Linked DNA regions of Homo sapiens: region 1 is linked to region 2. The links are contacts of gene promoters, found by promoter capture Hi-C in blood cells and fetal thymus (Javierre and others, 2016). All regions are on one chromosome and are shown on one strand. The core of a region is centred on a gene start or on the middle of the fragment in contact, and the rest is flanking DNA. Distances in the headings are between cores, read along the strand shown. Region 1 holds the start of LINC02868 (long intergenic non-protein coding RNA 2868). Region 2 holds the start of MAB21L3 (mab-21 like 3).

Region 1 (3,021 bases), core at 298-2,797, 580 kb before region 2:
CTCTTGAATGTAAAGGACCTTTTATAAAATTCAAAAGGGACAAGGGCAGAAGGCACATTGAATGGAGACCCAGACTGAAAGTCAGGAAACAGGGTCAGTCTAGCTCTGCCATGAGGTGCATGTTCTTGGTCCAACCACTTCACCTCTCTGGGCCTCTGTTTTCTCATCTGCAAAATGAAGCAGTTGACCTAATAGCCTCCAAAGTTTCTTTCATGCTGATATTCTATAGCAGGCTGGGGCTAAATTTAGATTTAGATTTGTCCAAATGATGGAATGACCTCTTTTCCCATCACTTCCCAGATGTCTACCTGGATTCTGGAGCTCCAGGAAAGAACCCCCCTGTGTTCACAATGGCGGTCCCTGGTGCCTGCAGAACTTAGGACAGGGAATTGGGGAGGTGGGGTGGTTAGGGACAAAACCCAAATATGGACTCCTTAAGAGAAATTTCAACCTTAAAAAGAAAGGAATCTGTCCCAGGCAGCAGCACAGTTGCAATTCAGAGGAAGCTGCGGTTCCGAGTGTAGGGTGGTGGACTCTACTGTAATCAGCCCACCCTAATCAGCCACCCTGAAGTCAAGCAGACATCTGGGGTGTCTCACCAATCTCCCAGCCCCTAGAATGCCAAACAACCCTGCTCTGAGGCCCTGTAATATTATCACATGGGGGTCAGGGAGCTACTCTCCTTCAATACTTCCAAGCAAACTGCCTAGAGCCAAAAGTCCAGGAAGACTAAGCACTTTGCAGATTTGAGTGAGAAATCCCCAGGGACTTCCATAGAAACTGGGAGTCTCAGAAATACCTACCAGGTTGGTTTCCTGAGGCAGTGAGCCAGGGAAGGAGGACTGATGGTGATGTTGCCTCATTTGGATACTCCATGAGCCTACGCAAGTTTCACAAAAGCTTCAAAGGAAAACAAAATATCAAATGAATCCAGTAACAACATTCTGGGGAAAAGGCTACCTGGAAGAGGGACAAAAAGGGATGAGTTTCCAGAGGAAGCCTAGGGAGGATGCCTGATGTCACTGCTGACAGAGGAAGCAGGAGGACTCAGCGCTCTCTGGACTGACCAGGCTGTGATGGGTGTGGCAGGCCAGAACTGGACAGGATCATTAAAACCCTCGGAGAGGTTTTCACTGCAAGAAAGAAGAGCTACCAGGCCTGGAGGGGAATAAGATTGGGGACCCAGGCTGCCAGTGAACTTATGCCCACCCAGAAACTCAGCCGCAGAAAAGTGGTAGGGATTATTACACCAAACTGAGAATTACAGTCTCTGCCTCCTCAGCCCCTGGCAGAGCTGCCACACATGGCAGCAGCACTGTCCTGCCTCCAGGTGAAATAGGAGCCACTGGGATCACCCACCACGCTGCAGGAGCTATGAGGCGTACAGGAGCATGGGGAAGGGATATCAACACACATAAACAAAGTAGTTCCATCCTTGCCTTATGTCTGTCTTTTTTATACCTCCGTAGATGTGGCCAACAAAATTGCTCCATAAATTGGACACTGCCCAAAGAAGTCTTTAACGCCATTCCTGGGTTCTTTGTCAAAACCATGGTGGCTTTTCCTGTCTTCACAGAGCTAAGCCCATTGTTTTGTGGTCCCTGCAGCTGTACCTCTGACCTGGGTGGAGCTGCATGTCTAGGCAGGAGAGGCTTGGGAAGCTAGAGTTGTTGCTGGTGATCTGTTTTCAGCTTGGGGCAGGAGCCAGGCTGGGTGCCAGAAGCAACTTTTGATTAGTCATTAGGCACAGACTTTGCTTCAGCCACACAGCCACCTCATTCCTGCCTCAGGGCCTTTGCACTTGCTGTTGGCTCTGCTTGGAGTCCTCTCTCTTGATCTGCACTGGACTTGTTGCTCCCTACTTCATCAAATGTTACCTTCTCAGAGGACCTTCCATGTCCGCCTCCAGTGCAGGCCCTGTTCACACTCTGTCCACTGCTCTGCTGATTTCCTTATGATAGTTACGGCACTCTACAAGGATCTTGTTTATTTGTTTACATGGCCACCGTCTCTTTCCCTACGGGAACGTCTGGAACCTTAGCTCCACCAGGGTCATCTGAAGGCTCCCAGGGTGACCCACACAGACCAGACCCCAGCCTGCACCCCAGGAGGCTCCTGCTCCCCACATACACAGAGCTCACCTCAGCCTTACCTCGCAGATGAGGAAGACTTTGGTGCCCACACAAATGCCCATGTGTGCCACGGCCCAGACAGCAGTGTTCATGCCTGCGAGAGGTCAGGGCAAGCCTATCAGTCCCATGCTGAGATGCGAGGCCCTGGACGCCTCCCCACCTCAGAGGGTGAAGGGGGGAGGCCTGGACACCCTCTCCATCTCAAAGGGCAGGGGGTGAGGGGAAGGTCTGGCAGGGGAGGGATCTTGTCTCTCATGTTCACTACTGTCCACAACCTCCAGCACAATGCTGGGTATATGATAGATAATATCTGTTGAATGAATAAATGAATAAATGCACACAGCAGCAAGCTGTGTGGCTGCTTATCCAATATAACTGTATCCCTGCGCTTCTCCCTTCCTAACATAACTTCAGTCTGCTTGGCAACATGTCCTATTCATGACCACGTGTTTGCCCTAAGCTGTTCATAGTATTCCCTCTTTCCCTGTGCTAATAACTGATTTTTCAAAAGGACCCATGACTTAGTTCTGACCAAAACCATGAGCAGAAGTCTACTAGGTAGGGCCGGGGGTTCTAAAAGAGGTTTTCCCCTTTGTAAAAAGAGAAGCAGGCACTGTCATATTATCTGGATTAGATCTGCTTAGTACAGCTGTGCCTCACTTCTCACTCTGAGGAGAGTTACCGTGAGGAAAAGTGCAACCCGATGAAGATAGCTAGGGTGCGAGCTGGAAGAAACTGGGTCTTCTATGACATTACTGAAGAACTAAATTAACCATCTCTGGAGCTTGCATACCTCTGGATTTCTTGTTATGGAGCATAATAAATTTTCCTATTATTAAGCCATTGTGAGTTGCATCTTTTGTTACTTACAGCCAAAGGCATTTGAACG
Region 2 (2,869 bases), core at 169-2,668:
AGCCCCCAAACATTGTTATAGGTGACAGTCTGTTTTCTGAGGAGCATTTTATGTGTCTTTAGAAAGAGCCTGAGATCCTTTCTGGACGAAGGTTTGTTTGGAAGTAGTGTGAATGGGGAGGGGGTTCATGGGAGAGACCGGGTCTGTCCTTACCTTATTCAGTAGGCAATCTTCTAAGTCTCCCACAGTAAGGTATTTCATGGCTTCTTGGTCAGTCCTCAGTAGAACAGCAACTTCCTGGTTTTTTTTTTTTTCTCAATGGAGTGCAACACTTGTGAGTAGATAGCACTCCCAGTAATGTGAGTCTCTGGGTACTAAGTTTTTCTGGAAGTGTGTAATGGACCAGAGACTTGCCTTCCGAACCCTTCACTCATGTTTTTATTTCCAAATTGTGAAAATCCATCTGTCATCTTTTGGGAAATTAAAAAAAAAAGAATTTAAAAAGAAGAGTTGATAAAATTGAATTTGAGTCCAACCTAATCATACCTTAGTTAGCTACATTGACTGGTGCTTTCACCAGAGAGCAATTTTCCAAATTGTATTTCCCACCCAAGTACTTAAAAGTTCCATCCAAGTCAGAAATACCCTGTAGTTGGCTTCTCCCCACCTTTTATGCTCCTGTCCCAACACTAGATGCACCGTGGAACTCAGTATCTTATATCTCCTGGTCCTTATCCTGTTGACAGTAAACACCCCTTGCTCTCCAAGCCAGAAAATCCCACGGATTGATTTACCTTCTTTACAATAAACAAATAGGAAACTGCCCAACAACCAGCCTGACACCCATCATTATGCCCGCAAACAAGTGATCAGGTCTTGTCAGCCAGCGCAGAGCACAACGGTTGGCATTTAGAAAAGCATGCACACACGTACACACAGGCACACACATATACACAGGCACACACGTACACACAGGCACACACATATACACAGGCACACACACGTACACAGAGTGCACACGGGCACACACCCACAGGAATGGCTGGTCAGGAATCCTTCTGCTCACCTGCTGACCTTTAAACGTAATTTCCCTCTTCCAACTTGAAAGCTGGCAGTAAAAATAAAGTCAGTGTAAACAGGTCCCTTTAGAGTCGAGGGAACACTCACGTCTGGTTTTGCCAGCAAAACTTATGTTGGAAAACAGCTCAGGCAGTAAATTCCCAGTTGGGCTGGCTGGGGCTAGTTTTACTACAGAAAAAAAAAAAAAATTTCACAATGGTCTGATCTCCTTGAAGCTGGTAAACATCACGGAGTCTGCTATCAGATAATCTAAAGAAATTACAGCCCTTCTGGGAGCACTACTTACTTTTAAACAATGTTCCAAAGGCAAGTGTTTCCAAGCCCACCTGTAAGTGCTGCCCACAAAGGCCACTGCACTATTTGGGGCCTCAGCGTTTGCATATCTTCCCATACTCTGCCCCAAGCAAAAGCCGCATCAGAGCTCCCTAGCTGCTCTGTGCCCCACCCACGTCATTACCTCCAGCTTTCAGTCCAACTTCTACAGAACTCCTGCCAATGCACAGCCTGATATAAATATTGTAAAGCTACATCCTCTCCAATGACCCTCTGATAGCACCCCTCAAAACAGCCTTGATTTTCCATTTGTTTCTATATGTAATTCTAAATCTCCTTCTTTTGATATCAAGTGCTCCCAAATTTTTCAGAATCTTATTCCCTGGGCTTTTCTTATCATAGTAGTGCCAAACTATTTGTTTTTCACAGACAGCAAGAGCCTCTTTCTCTGAACTTGCAATTTAGAATTCTCTCTCCACCTCATTTTCAACATTACGAAAGTCCCACTGTTTCTCTCATGTGCTCATTTTTGTTGTTACTTCTGCTTTCACTGTAATCATTAACTTGTGAGTCCCTTTCCTCCGGTGGGGTCTTTCCTAATGTTCGAGGGTTACCCCAGACACCTGTCATCAGATGCACAAACTTTCATTATTTTTGCACCTGTGGCTGCCCTATCTTGATTGCTCCAGTACCGCAGCTGATCAAAATGTTATAACTGGAATATTCTCTTGCCCTACGATCCAGCGACAATTGCCGGCTGTGAGCAGGGAAAGCAACCAACAGGGCCAACTGAGCAATCAGGAAACGAAGAAATAATCATGTGCTCAGGGAAGCTACACAGTCCGATTTTACCAGGATGTCATATCCAGGGAATAGGTGTGTTGTGGGGGCACAACCCAATTCCCTACTCCATGATTTAGCTCCTTATGGGCAAATGCTCTGAAATACAGGGCAGTCCCACAAATAGACTCTCTGACAGCTCCTGTCTGACAGTTTGATGAAGACAAGCTTTTTTTAGATGTAGATATCTGGGTAATTGGATATAGGATTCGCAAAAGGATTGAATTACAGTAAGCCTAAGGCACTTGTATGCTAGGCCACTGAGGAAATTCAAAGTTAGCTCAGGTTCTCTTCCTTCCTCAGAAAATAAATATTCTCCTTTCTCATGACTCACACCAAATGCAAGTACGGAAATGTAAACCTGCTTTGGCTCAGTTTCCATTGTGAAGACTAAGAACTTATTACAAGTCAGGTTAACAAGGCATGCAAAACCCTACGCTGCCAATCTGAGAAGTCCCGGGGAGATAATGCTAGCCCTGGTTTACCAGCAGAAGTGTTTGTTACTGATTTACTTAGTGTCTGAGATTTTAATTCCAAGAAGGAGGAAGGTTAGCTTGATCAAAATCAACCTTAAATATACAAATTTGTTAAAGTTTGCAGGATTACAAACTCTGACTTTTTTTTTTTTTTTGAGACGGAGTCTCGCTCTGTCGCCCAGGCTGGAGTGCAGTGGCGCAATCTCGGCTCACTGCAAGCTCCGCCTCCCAGGTTCATGCCATTCTCCTGCCTCAGCCTC

Evidence for each region. The method cuts DNA at HindIII sites, captures the fragments that hold promoters and counts their contacts. A CHiCAGO score of 5 or more calls a contact.
Region 1: a contact is called between the fragment with the promoter of LINC02868 here and the fragment with the promoter of MAB21L3 in region 2, in 1 of 17 cell types (neutrophils). The highest score is 5.7, in neutrophils.

Annotation. Positions count from the first base shown.
Region 1 is chr1:116,692,638-116,695,658 of GRCh38, reverse strand. It overlaps LINC02868 (long intergenic non-protein coding RNA 2868), which reads right to left and starts at 1,547. Exons shown (of 4, transcript NR_149353.1): 1 at 1,462-1,547; 2 at 804-900. The HindIII fragment of the contact is 15,118 bases long and covers 903-3,021 here.
Region 2 is chr1:116,109,948-116,112,816 of GRCh38, reverse strand. MAB21L3 (mab-21 like 3) reads right to left here and starts at 1,418. Exons shown (of 8, transcript NM_152367.3): 1 at 1,307-1,418; 2 at 1,007-1,188; 3 at 154-410. The coding sequence starts at 201. The HindIII fragment of the contact is 2,542 bases long and covers 1-2,303 here.